Linked DNA regions of Homo sapiens: regions 1 and 3 are each linked to region 2. The links are contacts of gene promoters, found by promoter capture Hi-C in human tissues and cell types (Jung and others, 2019). All regions are on one chromosome and are shown on one strand. Each heading gives the region's core, a stretch centred on a gene start or on the middle of the fragment in contact. The rest is flanking DNA. Distances are from core to core; before and after follow the strand shown.

What was found. The method cuts DNA at HindIII sites, captures the fragments that hold promoters and counts their contacts. A contact is called where the count stands out against the background at its distance.
Region 1: the fragment with the promoter of MLLT11 here is called in contact with a fragment that was not itself captured in region 2 in 1 of the 25 tissues and cell types used here (dorsolateral prefrontal cortex).
Region 3: a contact is called between the fragment with the promoter of SEMA6C here and a fragment that was not itself captured in region 2, in 1 of the 25 tissues and cell types used here (dorsolateral prefrontal cortex).

Annotation. Positions count from the first base shown.
Region 1 is chr1:151,058,123-151,062,349 of GRCh38, reverse strand. It overlaps MLLT11 (MLLT11 transcription factor 7 cofactor), which reads right to left and starts at 1,953. Exons shown (of 2, transcript NM_006818.4): 1 at 1,797-1,953. It overlaps CDC42SE1 (CDC42 small effector 1), which reads left to right and starts at 2,728. Exons shown (of 5, transcript NM_020239.4): 1 at 2,728-2,871. RefSeq lists an enhancer at 1,816-2,407. The HindIII fragment of the contact is 8,370 bases long and covers 381-4,227 here.
Region 2 is chr1:150,372,720-150,377,475 of GRCh38, reverse strand. The region is part of intron 1 of RPRD2 (regulation of nuclear pre-mRNA domain containing 2); the gene reads right to left. Among named protein-coding and RNA genes, the nearest start is that of RPRD2, 11 kb to the right of the region's middle. The HindIII fragment of the contact is 3,498 bases long and covers 440-3,937 here.
Region 3 is chr1:151,144,868-151,149,148 of GRCh38, reverse strand. SEMA6C (semaphorin 6C) reads left to right here and starts at 2,518. Exons shown (of 19, transcript NM_030913.6): 1 at 2,518-2,716. It also overlaps a transcript of LYSMD1 not described here. RefSeq lists silencers at 2,041-2,100, 2,311-2,770. The HindIII fragment of the contact is 4,441 bases long and covers 1-4,019 here.

The DNA of each region.
Region 1 (4,227 bases), core at 704-3,203, 690 kb before region 2:
AAAAAATCATAGAATTTTAAAACTAGAAGACATCTTAGAAATTAATGACTTGGGAAGACTTCCAGCCAGTTTGTATAGAATCCAGATCTCATAATTCCCAATCTGATCCCTTTTTGTGTTGTACATGGATAGTTGCCAACAGCTTTATATAACCCTATACCAGTATTCCCAAAACTTAAAAGAATTTTTAGTTGCTGAAGAATAGATTTTCCGTGGTTTAGGTGATTGTTCCTGTAATTGTGATCTGAATGGGGAAAAGCAAAGGGCAGTAGAGCAAGCTAGAATCTGAGAAAAAAAAAAAAGCTCTTCGACAAACTGACTCCTTTTCTTACAACCAGAGTATGTATAAAAAACTGCTCAAACAGTCCCTGAGTGTTTGGTAGAGCTATCTTGCAATTTAAAAAGCTAAAGCAAATTTTATGAAATATTAACTCAAAAGGCCTAAAATCTCTATGTCATTGACCCAGAGACATGTACACAGGGTACCAAATACATTCAAGAAAGACATGCATGCAAACATACGTGGCATTAAAATCAAGTCAAGAACATAAAGTAATACTACACAGAAAATTGAAGTTAAAATGCTATTCACTAATGTAAGTAGTAATGACATTTTTGATTTAATATAGTATGGATTTAATTATCAAATACTCCAAATTTCGCAAAAGATCCTTTTTTGGCTAGCTTCCCCTTCCCCTCCACAAATGCTCTCCAGCCCTACTTCATCTATCTTTACATCTTTCATTATCTTAAATGGTATCATTTACTTAAAGGGTTTTGACAGTGCCTTGTACCACAATATATGTTCAATAAATGCTTCCCACTATCCTTCACTTTAAATTATCCGGGTATTTTAGGCAAAGGCAATATCTAATTATCACTCTGTTCTTAGAGATACATGATTAGCAAATGTATAGATTAGAAAGATACACTCTCGGAGCCACACAGACACGCCCAAATATCCTTTGTCCAGACCCTTTGTGGGCATCCAAGGCCTACTCAACAGGGCCTTGCTGTGTCATGCTGCCACCATGGGGAAGGGGGAAGGACAAGGTGGTGGTGGTGGTAGAGGGGAGCAGAACCTCTCTGACATCTCATAATGTGTGCCTCAGTCAGAGCTTGGATTTTCCTACTAGCATTCCTCCACCAATTCCACTGAGCTGCAAATCATTCTTTTCCAGAATCTGTCCCCATACCTAGCTCCTGTGGGCTATACTGATTTCACTATGGAATCAGGCAGTTCTCCAACACAGAGGCCCCCACCTTTCCTACCCTAGGCTGCCTCTTTCTTTGGAGCAAAGATTCGAGGTGGAATGAAAGAGATTATCCAAAGAAAGGTCAGGATTACACCCAACATTATCCCATATAACCCCCTCCCAAACTCCCTCCTACAGAGAAACATAGAACACTACAGAAAAAAATTGCAAGTATAGGGAAGTAGAGGACAGAGAGATACAGTAGGACTAAAAATTAAACAGCTGGTAAAACAAATTATGGTTTGAAAAGGAAGATAAGTAGACTGAAGATATTAAATACACAGGACAATAAATTACAGAAAAGGATACTTGAAATGAGGTAGGTGCTGAGAAATAACTACAAGTAAATTGTTAGAGATTAATGGTCTGTATAAGGTAACAAGGCATGGATGCTGTGAAGAAATAACTACCCATTGTTCATAGCGCCCCCTTCTCTCCTCTTCAGCTGTCCCCCACCTCATGTGGGGTCTTTCAATCTAACCATAAGCAGCCGCTCTTCTATCTTTGCAGCCCCCTGCCCCCTCCCTCAGTTTGGTTTACCTGTTATCAATCAATTACTGGCGTGTTCCAAAGATGGAGGGAGTGCCTCGGGAGCTCCGGGGTCTGCGCCGGGCTGGAGAAATACAAAGCTGTTGGGGCTTTGACGGCTTTGTCTTCTCACTCCTTTTCCCTCTTCAGTGACTGAGTCTGTCAGTTCACTCTCCCCCTGCAATGCAGCCCCTCCTAAGAAGGGCGGAAGGATTCCCCGCCCCCTCCTGCCTGACTCGGCTAATTCAAATGATAGGTTCCAGAACACTTGAGGGAAGGAGAGACGATGAAAGCATCTCCCTAGGCTCATTGGTCTGCGCTATTATTCCCGATCTCTTCCAGCACCCCCGTGCTGACTGGGGGCCCAATGAATGAGCAGTTAATTGCCCTCTAATTTTAGGTCCTCTAATTTATGGATTTGAAATCTTAACTCTAGACTACAATGGAAAGGAGGAGTATTCCTTTCTTCCACAATTTAAGGACTTTAGGTTACAAAGTATTTTTAAGAATCAGAGTATTTTTCCACCCCTTCTCCCAATCCCTGCTCCTCCAGACTCGCCTCTCTACCCTCACAATGGGTAAATAAACCTAGTCCTATTCCATTTTGGGTAGAGCACAATAAATTTGGGGTGGGGGGCGTGCTTCTGCGAATCTCTGAACTTGGTTAGGTCTGGGGGTTTGGGGGGCTCCGCTTCGTTTTGCCCCGAAATGCCTGGCGAGTAAAGGGAACGTGAGATTCCGGGGGCCCCAGCTTGGGTGCCAGGGCCTCATCTAGGTGTCCGCATTCTCCAGTTCTCCCCGCAGGGGCGGCGGCCTTGAGGGGCTGCAGAGGCACCCTCCCACGTCCCGCGCAGTGCAGTGCCTCCGCAGTCCAGAGGGGAGCAGTGCGCCGGGCTCCGAGCCGGACGGGTTTCGTAATCGCGTCGCCGCCGCTTCCGCCCTCAGCCGGCCCCACCTCTGCCGGCTCGTACTCGGCTCCCCCACCTCGCCGCAGAGCTAGCCCGGGAAGCCCACACTGGCGGCCACGGAGCAGAGTCCCTCACCCCCACCAGCTGTAGCTGAACGTCTGGATGGTGGAGAAGAGCAGGTGAGGCCGTGCAGTTGGTCCCCTGGCCCGCCTGCCGCGCCGGCCGGGCCAGGCGGAGACACACCGGATGCGGGGTGTGGGGGAGGCGGGTGTCCTGGGCTGCAGAGATGCTGGGGTGGTGGGAAAGGGGTGCGCGCCCGGGGTGGCCGTAGTCATCCACGCTCCTGGGGTGCGCAGGCTGAGGCCGCTGAAGAGTAGAAGGAAAAGAAGGAACTGGAATGTTGGGGGAGGTGGGAGGGAGAGGGTCCGAAAGATTCCCAGAGAGGTCCCAGTCCGGTTAAGGGTTGAGAACAGCAGAGAACTTCTAGGTAGAGTTGTGTAGTGGGGGGAGACAGATACGGAATCTGTGTGATTGAATATATTTGGGGAGGGGAGGCTTAGGGCCTAGCCCTCTTTCCTCTTAAGCCCCCAGAAGACCTTTCCTGGGGAAGGGAAGGTTGGTGTTGGGCCTGTCACTTGGCTGAAATATGGAGTCCACACCGCTTCTCCAGAGTCCCTCAGCAGCCCTCCATGTCTCGGGGTCTCCACACAGGGACCAGCTGCTGCCCCGGGCTTCTAGCCAGAATTGCCCATGCCATTCTCTCGATTCTTTCTTTCTCTCCAGCTGCTTCATGTGAGGGCTTGTCAGGCCGCGGGTTGGAGGCCTTAGGGCCAGAGGCGGTGGGACCGGGAGAACCGGTTTGGGGCCCGAACAGGACCAGAGAACTAGCCTGTACATCCTTCCTCCCTGGCACCTCTTTCCCATCCCTTCTGCTCACCTCCCAACAGCTCTGAGACCCTCAAGTCCTAGTATGATCTTGGTGGGGGCGGGGGGTGGCTTTCCCGGTTCCATATTTCACTCTTGCCATTTGGAACTCAGAGAGGTCGAGTTCTGAGCACCACTTGGCTCTCAGGACGTGGCCTTATGAGGTCTAATCCTCATCCCTCCTGTTGTTTTCTCAGCCCCTTCCCTATTCACTGTGGGGTTGGATTCGGGTGGCTCTTCCGCCTGGGCTGACCAGCTCAGGACTTCATTTTTCCTCAACCCACTCTCTTCTGGCTGCTTTAAAGAAGAGTGGCCGCCAGTGGCTCTTACTTCCTTTTCTGGCTTTGTTCCCATCCCCCACTGCCCTGCGCTACCATCACATTCACCCTGACCTGTCTTCTTCACACTCTGACCCCACCCTCAAGTTTCAGAGACCCTAATGTCCTAGGGAATGGAATTTCCTGGTCACTTCTCGTCATCATTGGTCATTTCATGCCAAGTCCCACACACACGCTTTCCCTCCACCCAGCTCTGGTCAGGTCCCTGGAAAAGAAACAGAAATGGCCTTGTTCTCTCCACTGCCCCTTTCCCTCTCTCCTTCTCCTCCCCCT
Region 2 (4,756 bases), core at 939-3,438:
CAGGCGCCCGCCACCACGCCTGGCTAATTTTTTGTATTTTTAGTAGAGACGGGGTTTCACCGTCAGCCAGGATGGTCTCAATCTCCTGACCTCGTGATCCGCCCGCCTCGGCCTCCCAAAGTACTGGGATTACAGGCGTGAGCCACCGCGCCCGGCCCATTTACTAAATGTTAAGTTCCTTATAATTCCATCTCTTTCAGCACCCAATACAGGGGTTTACATAGAGGAAGTACTCAATATTTCCTTTCTTTTTTTCTTTTTTTTTCTGGAGATAGTCTCGCTCTGTCACCAGGCTGGAGTGTAGTGGCGTAATCTCAGCTCACTGCAACTGCTGCCTCCTGGGTTCAAGCAATTCTCCTGCCTCAGCCTCCCGAGTAGCTGAGACTACAGGCACATGCCACCACGCTCAGCTAATTTTTGTATTTTTAGTAGAGACAAGGTTTCACCATGTTGGCCAGGCTGGTCTCAAACTCCTGACCTCAGGTGATCTCCCCACCTTGGCCTCCCAAAGTGCTGGGATTACAGGCGTGAGCCACAGCGCCCGGCCAGCACTCAGTATTTCTAAGTTCATTTTCTCATTCTGTATCTTTAGGCATAACATATTATAAGAGAATTTTAATCTTTCAAGTAATACTGCCTCCTAGACACAAAGATCATCATTTTAAAAGACTGTATCGGCCGGGCGCGGTGGCTCACGCCTGTAATCCCAGCACTTTGGGAGGCCAAGGCGGGCGGATCACGAGGTCAGGAGATCGAGACCATCCTGGCTAACACGGTGAAACCCCTTCTCTACTAAAAATACAAAAAATCAGCCGGGCGTGGTGGCGGGCGCCTGTAGTCCCAGCTACTCAGGAGGCTGAGGCGAGAGAATGGCGTGAACCCGGGAGGCGGAGCTTGCAGTGAGCCGAGATGGCGCCACTGCACTCCAGCCTGGGCAACAAACAGAGCAAGATTCCGTCTCAAAAAAAAAAAAAGACTGTATCATGCTACACTCTAAAACTATGATGACAGTAAAGGAACACAAAAACAGCTCAGGATCCATTCTAGGTTTTTTAAAACAAAAAATGTTAAGTTATAATCCCAAACATTAAAAGATCCTTTTTTCCTTTCACAGTGCAACTTTTACTAAAGGGTAATAAAGAATCACTCTCTCTCTCTGCTAATGGATTCCAGAGAACTAGAAAGTGCAAGTAAGTGAAATTAATTATAAGAGAAAGAAGTGAAGAAAGAGAGATGAGGGAGAGATCAAGGCCTCAATCAAACACTAGTAAAATTTAAACCCAGCAAACCAAACATTTTCATTTCCTTCATCAAAGAGCCTCTATTTCAATATTTCTCTAAAAACAAGAGAATAAGAATGAAGCATTTTTAAAAACTATCTTTATCTTAGCCAGAAAAGCTTTAATATTTCAAAGCACAGATGGAATTGTTGCCTTTTCTCAAAAGGAATAACTAGGTTCTACTACTTTCTCCCTAAGATGTACATTCCTCCAGTGTTCTATAATTAATATCTGTGGGGGCAGTGGAATTTGAAATCACTACGAAACACAACTACTTTTTGTTTCCTTGACAAATAGATGAGAAAGTCAGTCAAGCTGGTTTGTAAATTGTTCTGTTCTTGGGTAATTTTTATTAGGGTCTCTGAGTTCCTTCAACAAATTAAACCTCATGTATCCTTAATTCTCAATTGAAATTTTAAAACAACTGACCAAAATCTCCCCTTTTGACTTTTAAAAGTACTGCTGTAAAACAATAAACACCTGGAAAAAGTGGGAGGAAAAAAGAGAACATAACTGACAAAAGCCTAGGAGGAAGAAAGAATTTTGATGCAACTATTATTTATTAGTTTAAGAAAGGCAGGAAGCCAAATCATTAAGAGTAAAATCATTCAACCCAAGGAAGCTGATAACAACAAAAAAGAATAAAATCAGTAAGCTTCTACTCCCTAAAAAATTACGCACATACATACACTCGTCCCTCCTCTACAGACAAAACTAACATTAAAGTAATTCTGGGTGGCCTCTGTGAGCAAATTTTAATATTAGTGTTTTTCCACTGCTATTGTAATTTTCCTTTCAAGATACCTCCATGTCACAGAACCATGTGAAGTTTGTCAGTAGTGTTTCACACTTTTAGTTATGGGAATGTTTATTTGCTACAAAATTTACTCTTTAGCTTACTATGGAATTTGGTATAGTAAAATTATGTTTTACATATTGCTTCAAACCCACCTAAGGCCATGGATGAAATCACCCTTCTGCTGTAAGAGACTAAGCAGCTAAAAGGAAGAAGATAACAACTGCTTGGAAAGTCTCACAATACAGACAAAAAGGCTTAATATATACCATTACAATAATTATAGTTTATAATTAAGACAGTTCCATGTTTCGAAACATTGCCAGAAACCTGGAAAAATACCACCTATAACTCTATGAACCTAGAGCAATGGAATGAAAAAAAAAAAAGGTGACTTAGGCATCTAAAGGGGAGGGAGAGGGTGGATAATAACCAATTATAACAGAGCTCCTGCTCAATGAATACAGAAATGCCATTAAGCGTAAACCAAGAGTAAAAATACGCAAGAGACCAAAATAGATTTATTACTTCTTTGGGGGGCTGAGACAAAGTTTACCTTGAACCTCAAAAAGAACCTAAGCCAATAACACACTAGACTAAGTAGAAAGAGTCATCTAAAATACTAGAATGCCCCAACAGCCTTCTGAGAATAGAGAATAAACAAACTTAAAAGTGCTTTTCCTACATTCTCATTCAACAATCAACAAAGACTTCTTTGACCAAATGTATGAGAGTTCTCCCCACACACACCAAGCAAGCAATTCTGCAATGAACACCAGCTAGGTGCCCTCCAATTCAATTCTGACACTGGAAGAGAGCATCAGATCCCACAGACTGAGTGCTCAGTCTCACAAGACTGCCCCCCACTTCCCATGCCAATCACAAATCTCAGGTTAACATTTGCTCTGACCCAACCACCATAAATCGGGGCTCACACAACCCCCTTCTTGGGTTCCATTAATTTGCTTGAGCAGCTCACAGAACTCAGGGAAACACGTTTACTGGTTAATTATAAAGGACATAACAAAGGACACCAATGAACACCAGATGAAGAGATGGAGGGGGCAAGGTAGGGCTAAGAGTGCAGAGCTTCTAGGTTCTTTCTGGGCATGCCAACCTCCAGGAACCTCCATATGTTTTGCTGTCTAGAAGCTTCCCAAAACCAGTCCTTTTGGATTTTTATGGAAGTTTCGTTATGAAGGCATAATTAATTAAACCACTGGCCACTGGTGTTCAGTTTACCCCTTCAGCTCTTCTCCCTTCCCCAGAGGTTAGATGGTAGGGCGGAAAGTCACAACCTCTAGTCCTGCCTTATTCTTTCCAGTGACCAGCCCCCATCCTTAGGCTACCCAGGGGATGCCAACCATCAGTCAACTCATTAGCATACAAAATGACACTTATCACCTTGAAGACCCAAGGATTTTTGAAGTAGTATGCCAGGAAATGGGACAGAGACCAAATAGAGATTTCATAATACCATAGCCTTCTCTCTGGACCTCTTCTATATCTGTACTTGCTGCTCTATCTTACTAGACTTACTTCCCTATCTACACTCTCTCTCTAGTTGATCTCTTCCAGCTTCCTGGCTCTAAAAACAATCCATATACTAGACACGCTATGGTGATTGCTGAACAACTCTATGAATATACTAAAACAATTGAATTGTACACTTTAAATGAGTATATTTTTTGTGAATTATATCTTTAAAAAAGATTTCTTAAAATAGACATCCCAAACCTAACACATCCAAAACTAAATTTCTCATCTTCTTCCCAAAATCTGCTCCACTCACAGCCTTCCCCATATCAATAAATGTCAACTCTTATCTTTCTAGTTGCTCAAGCTAAAAAAAAAAAAAAAAAAAAAGTCATTCTTGATTATTCTCCTCCTCTCTCACCCCACATTTAATCCACCTAGAAATCTGGCTGGACCTACTTTCAAAATAGATCTAGAATTAAATTACTTATCACTTCCGCTGGCCATAACCTGGTCCAAGCCATCAATATTTTACACTGGATTACAATAGCCATCTAATTGGTATCCCTGTTCCAGCAGAAACAAGAATAACCTTTTAAAAACAAACGAGTGCCAGGCGTGGTGGCTCACGCCTGTAATCCCAGCACTTTGGGAGGCTGAGGCGGGCGGATCACTTGAGGTCAGGAGTTCGAGACCAGCGTGACCAATATGATGAAACCCTGTCTCTACTAAAAATACAAAAATTAGCTGGGCATGGTGGCATGCACCTGTAATCCCAGCTACTCAGGAGGCTGAGACAGGAGAATCGCTTGAACCCGGGAGGCAGAGGTTGCAGTGAGCCGAGATGGTGCCATTGCACTCCAGCCTGAGCAACAGAGCAAAATTCCGTCTCAAAAAAAAAAGAAAAAAAAAGAGTTCATCTCCTTTTGCTTAAATGGCTCACCATCTCACTCTGAATAAAAACCAAAGTCCTTACAATGCCTATAAAACCCTTGGTGAATCCCATTTCACCCCTCCCCAACACCACCCACCATAATCTCTTTGAACTCATCCACTAATCTTCATTTTAACAACTCCTTTCCAGTCACAGAAGCTTTCTTGCTGCTCCCTAAACTCACCAGGCACACTCTAACCTCAGGACTTTTGTTTTTTCTGTTCACTTAGTCTTGAACATGCCCACCTCATACCCTCATGTCTATATTGC
Region 3 (4,281 bases), core at 1,269-3,768, 770 kb before region 2:
AAAGTGCTGGGATTACAGGGGTGAGCCACCTCGCCCAGCCAAGAGAGTCATTTTGATTTGTCCTTCAAAATAGCTCTCAGATTCATGTATTTCTTTCTAAATCTGTTCCCATCACCCTTGTCTGATTGTCCCTCTCCCCTCACCTTTAAACCTTGTTTACTTGCTAGTAGGTCTCTGTCTTCTTGCTTAAAAAAATAAAAAAATACAAGTTGCACCCTTTTTCAAGAATTTAAAATGACGTCCTACTCCTGTCAGATGATTTTAACCAGCTCACCTAGTCATTCCAGGCCTTCTGTAATTTGTCTTCCCCTTTTCCCTCCCCTTGCTCCTAACTAGTGCCTTTCCCACACACCAGCCTCACAGGACCTTTTTTTTATCCATGCTGCAGGCTCCTTGCTAACCAAGTAAAAGCTTTTGCTGAAGCTGTGTCCCTCGGGAACATTTTCTTCTTTTGCACCAAGCCAACTCCCACCAAAGTTTTCCTGTCCTTCATGATAAAATGTATCCAGCATCTTTCTGTGCAGTCTTCGGAGAATATTTATTGTCTTCTTTGCACATTTGGAAATTTATGTTCAATGTAGCTTTTCTTTTGAGACTTGGTGTTGTCTTTTTAATAGTTTAGTACTATTAAATATTTAATATTTAGTACTGTCTTTTTAATAGTTTAGACTTTTTAATAGTTTAGTATGTGCAAATCTTATTTTAATTCAAATATATTATCATTTTCTTAAAGTCTGGAACCACAACCCACAGTGGATTGTGTAGTAGATTGTGTCTCAAGTAAGTGTTTAATACTTACTGGATTGAACTGAGATTTGAGCTGGGTCCTAAAACTTTAAATGAATTACACCTTAATCCCCACTCACTAATCTATTCCATAAGCATGTATCTGAGTACCTAAACCCTGTGCTAGGAGCTGAGGAGATTTCTTTTAACCTCTCAGTGCCTCTGTATTTTGAGGTGTCTTTCTCTGAAAATTTCTTTCCAGCCTTTAAAACAACCCCAACTGTCTGACAGTTTGTTGAATTGCCTTGGACCCAAGATCCCTCGGCCGTTAATTCTGTGTAGATATTGTCCCTGTTTATCTTCTTCTATTTTTTTTAGATCTGACTTTACTGAGTTACTGTTCATCTTACTGGTTCACCTGGCCTTAAATCTGTCTCTCTGTCTCTCTCTTTCTCTGTATGTGCGTGTGCACATGTGTGTGTATGTTTAGGTCTCTTGTGTACTCGCTGTGGGGCTTAGCCTAGTTGTTGATACTCCCCTCCCTGATCACAGTCCAGTTAAGGCTGGCCTAAAGTGGCAAACCCCTTCCCCCTCCTTTCCTCTAGTCCAGAGTCCAAGATGTGGGTAGAAGTGTTCAGTCAGATAAAACTATCTGAGAATGCCAGTGTCTCCCAGGCCACCCACTTTCCTGGAGAATTTTGAGAATGTCTTTTGTCCCAGCCCCACATAGAGAAGAATCCTACCAGGCAATACCAAGGTACCAAGCAATCCTGTCTGTAGTAGTTTATTCTTCCTCCTCACTGACATTCCCAGGGGCTTTATGAAGGGTGGGGAGGGAGAAGGGGCAGTTTTGCTGTTTGGAGGGATGTCACGGTCCTCTGAGGAAAGGTGGGACGTATGTCTGTGGGGCAGGAAGGCTGTGTGGGTTACTTTATCAAGTCTTAGCGTTGCTACTCTTTGTGCCTTTCTCTGAGTCAGTTAGTCTTGATTTCCACATCTGTTTTGGCTTCAGCCTCTCTCACCTGCCCTCTTCCATTACCCAACAGCCTGACTGCTAGCTAGTTCTTGCCATAGTGGCCCAAACTCATGCTGCTTTGTAGAGGTGGGAGGGGAGGAGATCATGGAAACAAGGGAAACCTCCTGCTGACACCTTCCTTTCCTTTCCCAGGCCTCCAGCCCCCACGCGCATGCTAGGCCTCCTTATCCGGGTCAGGACGAACCAGAGGAGGCCTACGGGGAGAAATAAGGAGACAGAGGGACAACGCATAGAGAGGAGCAACAGAGAGTTGGGGGCAGAGTCAGGGAGATGCGGGATGCGCCCTCGGGAGCAAGGTCGCCCAAGCCGTATAGGAGGGGAAGGGAGGACGGATCGCGCAGGCTCTGACAGCCCAGCCCAGCCCCGCGAGGCTCCCAGGTTTCCTGTCTGTTTCTCCTCCCAGCTCCTCTTCCTCTCTTGGGAAATTTCTCCCCAGAGCCTCTCCTGTGCCAGCCTGTCTCTGCTTCTGTATGTATTTCTTCCTCTGCCCGGTGTCGGCGACTGTCCGTGGGTCTCTCCATCTCGCGTCTGTCTCTGGTCTCCAGTTCAGCCTCCCGGCCTGGCCCTCTGGGTGGACGGTGCTCCTGGCGCCCCTCCCCGGGCAGCACTATTGGCGGAGAGGTGACGAGAAGGCGGTGTCTAGCCGCCCTCCGAGGGCGGGATTAGTCGCGGCGACCCAAAGGCGGGCAGGAGGTGGGCCCGGCTGGGAGGCGGGCGGGGCCACTGGGGCCGAGCCCAGAGCCCCGGGCGGTCGCATTGTTTTCCTCCGCGGATCCGCGGCTGGACTTGGACCCAGGGCTCTCCCGACAGCGCCCTGGAACCCAAATTCAAGCACCATCCAATTCGGACGCTCATCGCATCTCGCCTGAGCACAACCACGGATTGCGAACTCAGCGCAGCGCGTGGCCGCTGGCCGCCCGCGGCGATCTCGATCCCGCTGACCCGAATCCTGGAGCAAGTACCCCGGGCAGGGAAGGGGCTGCGGGGAGGCGGGGAGGGAGCAGGAGGGCGCGGCCGGCGGGGGGCAAGCTTCTGAAGCGCTAGGGGACCAGGGAGGTGTCGGCGCCCGGTGTGCCTGGCTGACGGAGAGGGTCAACGAAATTGGGGTGCAGGGAGGAAGGAGGGACAGTGGCCGAGCCCCGTAACTGTACTGGTGAGAGCAGAGTCTGGGCACCTCGTTCAATTGGGCTTTCGTCGAGTCGCATCCCGCTGGACTGGGAAGCGCGAAAAGGGATTATTTGAGGCGCGCTCCGTAGAGAGCGTGGAAAACCTGGCCCCTTGCTTTCCCAGCAAGGAAACTAGGGCTCCGAGACCCACGGAGAACTAGACCCTCCTGACGCCCCTGAAGGGATGGGAAGAGGGACGCATCGTTCCGGACTTTGTGTCACGGGTGCTCCTCTGTCCTTGTGCAAGCCGGAATCTGAGCACCCTCTGAAGGGTTGGCTCGTGCAAAGAGGCGGCGAATGGGGCCCTCGAGCAACATCGGTCCCAGCGCCTATCTCCTTCCTTCAGCCCGCTCGGCCCGGGGCTTTGTTAGACTGAGGTCTCCCAAGGAGGACATCCGAGCTGGCAACTGCCTCCTGAGCCCACGGTCCCCACTGAGCGCCGGCCTCAGGCCCGCCCTCGTCGGTTCTCAGCCTCTGGCCCTGTTTCCCTGGCCTGGGAGACCCGCCTCCGCTCCCCAACCCCCGCTCCTATCCCCTCTTCGTCTGCGCCTGCAGGCCCCTCCAGCCCCTCCTCTCGCTAACGTGGCTCTGGGACCCGGTCCCGGCCCAGACTCTGCTACCGGCCCCTCCTCGGAGCCCCGGATCCGGTGAGGGGGAGACAGGTCGAGCCCCTGGCCCTAGGCCCACCTCTTTTCGAGGCTTTAGACACCTGGATTGTCCTGGTTGGGGGTTGGGTGGGAAGGAGGGTAGGTGCTGAGTGTGGGGCTAAGAGCTAAGAGTGGGGGAAATGGCTTGGAGAAAGGAAAGCTCCGGTTCCACAGGCTCCTTGGCGCGACCCTGCTCCCTCTGAGGAAGGTGGACTGGGGCGGGCGACCAGCCCAAAGGCTTCCTGCTATTGTCCCCAGCCCAGTCTCCCCTTCTCCATCCCTTCCACAGCTCTCCTAGACTCTGGCTGTGACCCCAGCCATTCCCCAGAGGTGGCTTCGGGGCCAGGAGAGAGAAGGGCTGTTTCCTCTTCCCAGCAACGGGAGGATCTGGAAAGGGGAGAGTCGGCCAGGTCTCTCCCATGTGCTTCAGATGGGGTGTGTGAAGCAGCTCGGATTCTTCCAGGGCAGAGTGATCTTTTCTCCAGGCCAGGAGTTGAGGAGCTGACCAGATGCTGCTTCCCAGAAACAGCTACAAGAAGCCCTCTTAAAGGTGTATCATAGTTGAGTCTAGAAGGCCAATGCAAAGGCCAGCCAAGTGTTTGTAGAGGCTGGACTAATCCAGCCTAAAGTGGGGTGTGAGTGTGTGTGTGTGTAGACTGAGTGGAAGGGAGGCACAGCCTGCTCTCTCAGGGAGGAAGGAAAGGGT